Linked DNA regions of Homo sapiens: region 2 is linked to region 1. Evidence: promoter capture Hi-C in human tissues and cell types (Jung and others, 2019). All regions are on one chromosome and are shown on one strand. Each heading gives the region's core, a stretch centred on a gene start or on the middle of the fragment in contact. The rest is flanking DNA. Distances are from core to core; before and after follow the strand shown. Region 1 holds the start of MZT2A (mitotic spindle organizing protein 2A). Region 2 has its middle 15 kb from the start of LINC03124.

The links. Contacts are between HindIII fragments. The study calls those that stand out against the background at their distance.
Region 2: a fragment that was not itself captured here is called in contact with the fragment with the promoter of MZT2A in region 1 in 2 of the 25 tissues and cell types used here (lymphoblastoid cells and mesenchymal stem cells).

What each region holds. Positions count from the first base shown.
Region 1 is chr2:131,489,672-131,494,841 of GRCh38, forward strand. It overlaps MZT2A (mitotic spindle organizing protein 2A), which reads right to left and starts at 2,726. Exons shown (of 3, transcript NM_001085365.2): 1 at 2,536-2,726; 2 at 2,205-2,353. The coding sequence starts at 2,705. It overlaps MIR4784 (microRNA 4784), which reads right to left and starts at 1,565; the gene lies at 1,489-1,565. It also overlaps the pseudogene SMPD4BP. RefSeq lists enhancers at 2,057-2,850, 2,851-3,644 and silencers at 2,447-2,956, 3,477-3,666. The HindIII fragment of the contact is 8,382 bases long and covers 1-5,170 here.
Region 2 is chr2:131,664,525-131,669,694 of GRCh38, forward strand. No RefSeq gene overlaps it. Among named protein-coding and RNA genes, the nearest start is that of LINC03124, 15 kb to the right of the region's middle. RefSeq lists a cis regulatory region at 4,372-4,679 and an enhancer at 4,472-4,651. The HindIII fragment of the contact is 4,481 bases long and covers 622-5,102 here.

The DNA.
Region 1 (5,170 bases), core at 1,476-3,975:
CTGGCTAGTTTTTGTATTTTTTGTAGAGATGGGGTCTTGCTATGTTGCCCAGGCTGATCTTGAACTCCTGAGCTCAAGGAATCCACCTGCCTTGACTTCCCGAAGTGCTGGGATTACAGGTGTGAGCCAGCACACTGGTCTCACTGGTGGTTTTCCTCACTGCCTCTCACTGGACTGAGTGTGATCATCTCACTTCCCTGCCACGCCCTCTGCCCTGAGAGCTAGGCCTGGCACCCAGAGCCCTGAGTGAGTGCTAAGTGAGCAGCAACATCTCCTGGAGTGACAAGAACTCTGTTCCCAGTTTCTCCCTCCTGCTGGACACTTGCCCCTCAATTGCTCATCTCAGCCTGCAGTCCATACACCCCTACTCCAGGCCTGTCCTTCAGGCCCTCTCCACCCTCTCTTGGGCCTGAGCTCTGGGTGGCAGTGAGGTGGCCGCTGTCAGGAGGCTCATGCAGGAGGCGCGACCAAAGACCCCTGGGCTCTCACAGGCCCCTGATCACACCTGGTGACACCTGGAAAGTGTCCCAACTCAGGAGTGAGGCGGGCAAGGGGGCTGAGTGCTGGAGTGTGGCCATGGGACCAGCACATGGCATCTGTGTGGCACTGCCTGGCAGACTCTGGGAAGGTGGGAGTCTCTGTTTCAGCCTCCAGACTTCCTGTCCAGGTAGGGGACAACTTCTAAGAGGCCGAGGCGTTTGTCACGCCTGGGGCTGTGCTCTCCAGCAGAGCACACTGCACCCGGCTGGCTGTCTTCCCCTGGAGAGGGGCTCTTTACACTCACCACTAGTTCGCCTCTGGGGTGTGGGGATGTTGGTCCTGTCCCCGGATGCCAGCCCGACTGTGGGGTCTAGAGACTGCCACACCATGTCTCTAATAAACCGAGTCAGAAATAGTGCCCTGTGGCTAAGCGGCAGGGCAGCGGTGGCCTGCATGATCCTGCCCTTGCAGCTCAAAGCTGCTTGGGCCTCTTGGGGCCATGCAGTTTCCATGAAAACAAGGAAGAGCACCAACCCCCAGAGATAAGCCAATAAACGCAACCTGCAAAAGGAGAGAACAGGCAGCAAGAGAGGCGGAGGGAACCCGGGGGGCCTGGAGAGAGAGGTGAGTGTGTGGCAGCTGGGCTGTGGAGCATAACCAGAGAGGCCGCAGGCTGCGGGCTGGAGGAAAACGAGGGCCTTGCAGGGGGGCTACTGTTCCTGGCAGAGAGAAAGGAGGCCTCTGGAGGTCAGAGAGAGACACAAAGAGAGCAGACAGAGCGAGGGTCAGTGAAGAGGCCAGCACGCAGGTGCCCGGGCCCTCTTGGGTCAGCGGGCGTGGGTGCCCAGGCCCTGGCACTTCCCCCATGAAGGCAGCCTGCTTTCCACGCCTTCTCATGATGCCTGTGAGGGTCTCCTCCTGCTTCCAGGCAGGGAGCCAGCTCTGGGCCTCCTTCCATTGGCCTGGGAGGTTGTGCTGCATTTCAGAGAGAGCCATCGGGAGCAGAAGCAACATGCGGAGAGGATGAGCAGGGACGGAGGCTCCACCATGACACTCTCAGTCCCAGCATCTCCTCAGCCCAGTCACCACACTGGAGAGGGAGGAGGCCCTTCAGACCCCGCAGGCCTCTGCACCCTGGGAGTTCCGCGTCTAACTCTCTTCCTGCAATCATCAGAGGCAGGAACTGGGCCCAGGTGGGGTAAAGGCAGGAAGACGTCTGCCTGCCCTGCTCCCTGGGCACTTCCCTGGATGCTGTATACCACAGGACAGAGATCGAGACTGTCTTTTGAAAAACATTTAGAGACAGGATCTCACCCTGTCACCCAGACTGGTCTCAAACTCATGGCCTCAAAGGATCCTCCCGCCGTGGGGTCCCAAAGATTATAGGCGTGAGCCACGGCGCCCAGCCCCAAACCGTCTTGATTCCCGACTTTGTAGGATGAAGGCCTGAGTGAAGAGGTGGGGAGGAGCTAAGCGGAGGAGCCCTACCCAGCCTGGACCACCCTGGGGCACGCACTCTGCGTCCACCTGACCTGGACGTGCCTCCTAAGGCTGGCAGCGAAGCCCAGGAGCAGAGCCCACGGATGGGCCCTGCAGGTGCTGGGCCTAGACCGACCGACAGACAGGCCTGGCCACTCAGGGCCACGCCGCCGCTGTGCCGCGCCTGCCCCCTCCCCGCCCGCCACCCCCGCCACTGGGGCAGGGACAGCGGGCCCAGCTCTGACCTCGGGTCTCGGGCACGCTCGACGTGGGCAGAGACACGGCCGCAGGGTCCTGGGGCTCGCTCGCTAGCCTCTGCCCGGCACACATGGACTTGAGCATCTGGAAGACGGCGAGGGGGGCCACGTTCAGCTTCAGCAGGTCCACCAGGATCCTGGCGGGGACAGACGCGGGGCCGGTGAGCCCTCTCCGCCCGGCGCGGCCACCTCCCTGAAGACCGGACAAGGACGGGGGCGGGGGCAGCGGGGGCTCCTCCCGACCAGCGGGCCGGGCGTACCCGGAGAGCAGAGGTCGGGGGTGTCTGGCGAGCATGCGGCCCCCACCCGCCCCGCTCACTTGAACACGTCGGGGTCGATACCGCCGCCCGCCGCCTGAGCCAGCTCGTACAGCTCCATCTCCTCGGTGCTCAGCACCTTCTTGCGCCGCAGCGCCAGCTTCTGCCGGGCCGCCTCCAGCCCCGGGGGCGCCGCCGACCCCGGCCCAGGCCCTACGCCCTGCGCCGCCATCCGCGAGGCCCGCCGAAAGGTGCGCCCCGCCCCGCCGCGCCCCCTAGCGGATGCGCCCACCGCCCTCTCCCTGCAGCGCCAGCGTCTGGCCTCCCGGGCTGCCCTGGCGGGAGCGGCGGGAGCGCGGGGACGGGGCCGCCTCCTCGGCGTCATTGGAGCCCAACAGTTAGTGGGCGCTCACGGTGTGCTGAGCGGCGCGCTAGGCGTCGGGAGTGGCATGGCGGACTGCAGGGGCCAGCTGCTTGGCGGTCAGGGCGTCCCTGATAGACTTGCATTGGTCGTGCTCGCTTAGGTGGCAGCACCCAGCCCAGTGCCAGGCATACATTGGGCGCTCAGTCAATACCTGTTTCAAGAAAGCGTGCAATTTTCTGGTCCGCACCGGTGCACCACTAGGGGTCGCTCTTCGGGGGGGGTGGGGGGCACTAATCAACAACCCTGCTTACGCGCACGCGCATTCCTTGCTAGGGAGAAAGTGCGTGAGCCCTACCTTGGGGCGCCAGAGGCCGCCACAACGCAGGCGCATTCAGCTAAGGACCACTCCCTCCCCCCGCACTCCTGCCTCGCCATTTCCCCTCCCTGGCCGGCCGGCCGGCCTTCTTCGCTTTGCGCACGTACCTTTTGAGGTAACGGCCCAAAGAGGTAGAAGCGCTTTTCCCGCCCGGCCGCGGGGCGTGGCTCTGCGCGCAGCTTGATGACGACGTTTTGGCGCGGTGGCGGAATGGCGGCTTCCACCTCTGAAGCGGGCGACGCTATGGGTCCCACAGGTGAGTGGCGCGGGACGCGCGCGTGAGACGGTCCGACGCCCTGGGGGCTTCCGCGAGCCCCTGCGGAGGCCATCTCCGTTCCTCCGCGAGCCCCAGGACTCGGGCGGCCCGGCGGCTCTGCCCAGGCCGGGCAGGCTGGGGAGTGGAGGGCCCCGGCTGAGTCTTCCTGCCACTCCTCTGGGCCATGCCTTTGTGCCACCTTCCCGCGCCGCTCGTACACTCTGTTCTGGTCCGGTAGGTGTTCGTTGAAGGTTACCCGTCGTTGAAGGAATTGAGGGAAGGAGAGCTTTGTGTTGAAATTGAGCCTTGGGCTCAACAGGCGGTGTGGGAGGAAGAGCCGGGTGTGGGTCCCAGCTCGACCCTTCCCCTGTGCGCTCCACATCTCCGAGCCTTGGTTTCGGAGGCTCCCGAAGCCCAATTCGCAGGAGAGTTGGAAACAAGTGGGCGCGTGCTGTTAAGGGAGGTCTTGGCATGACAGAATTTGCTTGGAATGATTAGCGTTGCCCAAGGGCTGTCGCTGTCAGAAAAACAAAACAAAACGAAACAAAAAAAACAAACGGGTCCGAAGCAGCTCCTGGAGAAAATAGGTGTTGGAGAGTCGCGACGAAGTGGACTCTAGGTGCATGGCACGCAGAGACCTGTGACGGGGGAGGGTGGCCATGGCAGGGTCAGAGAACAGGGGTGTGGGAGACACCTCTTGGGAGTTCTCGGGTTTGAATTTCCTCTCTTGGAAAGTTCCTAGAAATTCCTCTGGGCCTCATTCTTTCAGTCGCTGCCCATGAAAGCTTTTACTGAGCAGAGATGCTCTCCCCTTCATCATCTCTAGAGCTCCGCACTTATCCAGCAGTCCACAGTTTAATGCTGCTTTGATCATTTTGCAGTAGTGCAGTGTTTTCTTGACCAAGTGCATTAGGACTGAGGCGTTTTTCTTTAACACTGCAATTGATAGCTAGGTTAAGAATTGAGGCCGGGCGCGGTGGCTCACGCCTGTAATCCCAGCACTTTGGGAGGCCCAGGCGGGTGGATCACGAGGTCACGAGTTCAAGACCAGCTTGGCCAAGATGGTGAAACCTCGTCTCTAGTAGAAAATACAAAAATTAGCCGGGCGTGGTAGCGGGCGCGTGTAATCCCAGCCACTTGGGAGGCTGAGGCAGAGAATTGCTTGCACCCGGGAGGCGGAGGTTGCAGTGAGCTGAGATGGCGCCACTGCACTCCAGCCTGTGCGACAGAGCGCAGAGCGAGACTCCGTCTCAAAAAAAAAAAAGGAAAAGAGAAAGCTGGCCGGGCGCGGTGGCTCACGCCTGTAATCCCAGCACTTTGGGAGGCTGAGGCGGGCTTATCACGAAGTCAGGATATCTAGACCATCCTGGCTAACATGTGAAACCCACTCTACTAAGTAAATACAAAAGACAATTAGCCGGGCGTGGTGGCCGGCGCCTGTAGTCCCAGCTACTCGGGAGGCTGAGGCAGGAGAATGGCGTGAACCCAAGCGGAGCTTGCAGTGAGCCAAGATAGCACCACTGGACTCCAGCCTGGGCGACAGAGTGAGACTCCGTCTCAAAAAAAAAAAAAAAAAAAATTGAAAAAACTTGGGAGATGTTCCTATTGCCAAGTGGCAGAGAGGCAGAGATTCCTGTCTCCTCTCACTCTACAACTGCCTACATGGCCTCTTTACACCCAGCCTCTCTTCCTCCACAGACT
Region 2 (5,170 bases), core at 1,612-4,111, 170 kb after region 1:
GGTGACTGGATCATAGAGGTGGTTTCTAATGGAATGGTTTAGCCTAATCCCCCTCGTGCTGTCTGATGATAAAGTTCTCCTGAGATCTGCTTGTTTAAAAAGTGTGTAGCACCTCCCCTGACTCCTTTCAGCCATGTGAATATGTGCTTGCTTCCTTTTCACCTTCTTCCATGATTGTAAGTTTCCTGAGGCCTCCCTATAAGCATAAGTCTGTACAGCCCACGGAACTGTGAGCCAATTCAATCCCTTTTCTTTTTCAATTACCCACTCTCATGTATATCTTTATAGCAGTGTGAGAACAGATTAATACACTCCTCCTCAGAAAGCATTCAATTTAGCTGTGTCTAAAGTATGCCAGGTGTCCTAGGGTGTTATCTTAGCCAATAATTCTTCCTCTTCAGCAAGATCTATTTGCCTATGACAGCTTGACCTACAGTTCCTACCATACTTGTCAGTAACAAGTAGCCCATAACATCTGAAGGGACTTCATTGAAATCACAGAGGTTCTTTAGTTCTTTACCTCATTAGTAGGCATTAGGGAAGCACATCAACTTTCTAATTTAATAAGGTGCCTGTTGCTTTGAAAAACTGCTCAAAAAAAGATAGGAGAGGCTTACTTAAAGATATCACTATAGGCGTGGCATGCTGCTTCACACCTGTAATCCTAGTACTTTGGGAGGCTGAGGAGAGAGGATCACTTGAGTCCAGAAGATCAATACCAACCTAGGTGACATGGCAAAGCCCCATCTCTACAAAACAAAACAAAATCAAAAAAAATATTTAGGCATGGTGGCATGTGCTTGCATTCCCAGTTGCTCAGGAGACTGAGGTGGGAGAATCACTGAGCCCAGGGAGGTTGAGGCTGCAGTGAGCCATGATCATGCTGCTGCATTCCAATCTGGGTGACAGAGCAAGAGCCTGTCTCAAAAAAAAAAAAAAAAAAAAAAAAAAAAAAAAAAGGTACTATCTATAACTATTCTTAATTAGAATAACTAGGTTTTTTTCAACAGTGGAAACTCAAAACAGACAAAATTGTTGTACCTCAAGGTGAGTTGTCATAGTCAGTTAATTCCTTTGCTTGCAACTGCCCAATAAATGGATGAGGACTCACTTCACCCATAAATAAGAAAGGTGAACAGCACATGGGGCCTGTAGATGCCTTTTGCAGGGCCCTCTTTTTCTCTTCCTAAAGTTGCAATTTGGGTATTTCTCTAGATGGGCACAACATAGAAACTGTCATCCTAGATCAGAGCCTGGAGAGAGAGATACAGGTGTCATGCTTACATCTGCAGAGTGGGAACAAGCCCAGAAAAATCAAGACGATTAAGCAGAGAGCTTCCATACTGGAGATAAACCAGCTGTGTAAAAAATCATGCTTATTGAGCAAAAAAGCATTGCATCATCGAAATAACTGCTTTAACTAAGAAGTAAAGGAACTGATGCCCCAGCAGAGCACAGAGAGCCACAGAGACAGGAGCTGCGTTTCAAACAAGGTCATTGCTGTTGTCCCCACCCTGAGTTAAGTATCTCTGCTTCACCCTTCTTTACCAAAGTTCTGCTTGATCATCCTTTTGTTTTATTTTCTTTTTTCTGTACTTCACTTCTTTGAGAAAATATAAACCAAAACCTTACATAAAACAGGAATTGAGCTTTTGACAGTGTTAGCCCTTGAAACAACCAAACAAAAAGGTTTCTATTATTTCTCATCTCTGTGCTACCCAATACAGTAGCCAATAGCCCCAGATGACTATTAAAATTAAAATTAATTCAAATAAAACAATTTACAATTTAGCTGGTCAGTTGTACAATTTAGCTGGTCAGTTGTACTACCCACATTTCAGTTACTCAATAGCCACATGTGGCTAGTGGCTACTGAACTGGCCAGCACAAATGTAGAACATTTTCATCATCATAGTTCTCTAGGCCATGGAAAACTTGCTGAACCAATTTCCAGTGTGCACATTTATTTGCATACCTAGGAGCTTTTTGACCCTGTGTTGAGATGCCTAACCAGCTTCCTGATTGACCTCCTGATATTTCTGCAAATGTGGACTAAGAGGCCAGGATTCCTCAGGGCCCAGGTGACTCAGGTTATTCAGAAATTATATTTGGACTACCAGTCCTCTGCTTGATTTGGGATGCAAAAAGGGACTTCTCTCCCTAATCACTAAAGTAGCTTTTCAAGGTCCCCCTCTCATCACGGTAAGAGTCTCATTTCTTGAGACTCTTATTTCTTTCCATGACTTATGTTTTGGAAAGAGTGGATTCAGACAGAAGAGCTGGCTCTGTGCTGGTTTTCCAGGGGTCAACCCTTTTGTCAGTGACAAGTCTGCCTCTCTACATGATGTACATTGTGTCCCACTACTGGTAATAGAAGCTCAGCAATTGATTGACTGTTAGGTTATTTTCAAAGCTCAATATTCACAATAATCTAAAAGACCCCCACATAACCATGAGGACAGACAGGGCTTTCATAACCTGCAAAAGACAAGGTGCAAATTTCTTCTTTCCATCCCAGCAACAAATCGACAACTCAGCCAGCACTTAAGTTGGGGTAAAAATTAATTAAAAGAAGAATGTATCAAGCAGAGATAAAAGAACAAAAAAGCTATTGCAGCTGTCCTCTCCATGACAGAGGCCTGTGATTTGAATTTTAATGTTTTCATCTACTTTCTGCTTTTGTGTTTCTTTTATTATTTTTTTCACTATCTCTTATTTGTAGATACAAATTTTTCATATTTAAAAGCTATTTTAAATATAATCTTTAAAAGGAGAAGCATTCTTTTTTTTAATTGCACAAAATACTGAAGGTGAGATCCACTGATTGCAATGCAATGGGACAGTATCTCTGGAAGCAATTTTATCCAGAAAAATAAATAGCTTTAAAACAATTCACAACCTTGGACCTAATACCTCTACTTCTAGGAAGCTAGCCTATGAAGGTTTCTGCTGAAGGATGTTTATCACAGTATTATTAATAATGCGAAAAAGCCAAAGAGGAGACCTAAAATGTTTCAAAGATGAAAACGGTTTGATAAAATCATTTTTTTTTGAGACAAGGTCTCACTCTTGCCCAGGCTGGGGTGCAGTGGCACAATCTCGGCTCACCGCAACCTCCACCTCCCAGGTTCAAGCACTTCTCCTGCCTCAGCCTCCCAAGTAGCTGGGAATACAGGCACCCCCACCATGCCTGGCTATTTTTTTGTATTTTAGTAGAGATGGGGTTTCACTGTGTTGGCCAGGCTGGTGTCAAACTCCTGAGCTCAGGCAATCCACCTGCCTCGGATTCCCAAAATGCTGGGATTACAGGCATGAGCCACCATGCCTGGCAATAAACAACATATTTAAACTCTAAAATGTTATGCAAGCATTCCAGGCATGCTTTGGAAAAACTATTAATCCTACAAAAGATGCTTATGTTATTATATAGACTAACAGACCAAGATTCTCCAGGACACTTACTTTGTTAAGTGTCTGAAGTAAAATACAATGCTGTATATAAAATGTGACCTCAAGTCAGGTCCCAGTCTTTTCATCTGGGAAATTCTGTTAATTATACTGCCCTTCCCCTTTATAGGTTTTCTGTAGGAGTTAAATAAAATCCACTTTGTTAATTGCTTAACACAATGCTCAACACTGGTAGGGGAGCTATAATTGTCAGCTATTGTCCTATGTGCCAAGAAAAAGACCACACAGACAGACACACACACAAACACACAAAGACACACATGGAGGGAGAGGAAGTAAAGATTAGGAAGCAGCACATAGTGTATCAGTAGACAATGGGACCACTAGTGATTTTCATATTCTTTTTTATTTTCTTTTTTATACTGCTTACATTTTCAGTGTTACATAATGAGCATGTATTACTTCTGTAATCAGAAGAAGGTGGTATAAACCTCACCTTAATATAATAAAACAAAATTACTGGCCAGGCACAGTGTCTCATGCCTGTAATCCTAGCACTTTGGAAGGCTGAGACTGGTAAATCTCTTGAGCTCAGGAATTTGAGACCAGCCTGAGCTCAGTGAGACAGTGAGACCTCGTCTCTGGAAAAAATACAAAAATTAGCCAGCGATAGTGGTGTACACCTGTAGTCCTAAGTTACCTGGGAAGCTAAGGTGGGAGGGTGGCTTGAGCCCAGGAAGTGGCTGCAGTGAGCTGTGATTGCACCACTGCACTCCAGCCTGGGTGAAAAAGCCAGACCCAGTCTCATACAAAAATAAAAACAAACAAACAAACAAAAAAGTTATTACTTAAGTCTCACATGCTGTCTTGGAGCCATCTTAGTGTTGAGGGATTCAAGAGACTGGAGAGACCAATGGGTGAGACAGGAGGATTTTATTAAAGTGACCACTTGCCCAGTGGATTTGCATCCAAAAGGCTGAGCCCGGAAAAAAGACGGGGCCTGGTTTTTAAGCATGCAGCTGTGCAAAACTTACAGGGCGGGCTTAGCAAGCTTACAGAAGCAGAACAAAGGCAGTTAATCAAACAGTGACAAGTGTATGACTCAAACATGTCTGATGACCTCTGCTGGGCCACCCAGCAGGCTCTCAGCAGATGGTAACTATTTTAGGCTTGCTCAGGCATGTCTTGTGACCTTCTCAGGGTCACACAGATGGAAAACAGGAACTTAAAAAATCCTTATAAACTTACAGAGATAGTTACAAAAATAGTTATGAGAGCAGAACAAAGAAATATTGGCCTGGGAAAGAATCTCAAAGGGGGAAGCTGATAAGAACTTGTTTTTCTCATCCCTGTTCCTGGAGTCCATTCCTTCTGGGCTCTTCCTGGCCTTGTATATAAAGTTATCTTAATTCTAGCACGGCCTTGGAGTGAGTCAGCCTGGAACAGGCAGGAACTTAGGTTTTTCTCTTTTTAATTTCTGCTTTAGTAGGCCAGGGTTCTGATTTTCACTGCTGAGAAAGTAAAGTGTGTTCAGGCTGCCCATGGTTCTGGGCCCCCCCGGGTCTCTGAGGAGGGCTGTCCCCTCCATCACAGAGAATATCAGGACACTAGCTTGTTCTAGTTATACTTACACACTCCTCTCATGTTGTCTATGGAGTGGTGGATGCTGCAGGGAGGGTGACATCCTAGTTAGTCCTAAGAGCCAGACTGCCTGAAGCTCACTATAACAAGTCCTGCCTTGGGGAAGAAGGAAGTGTGTCTC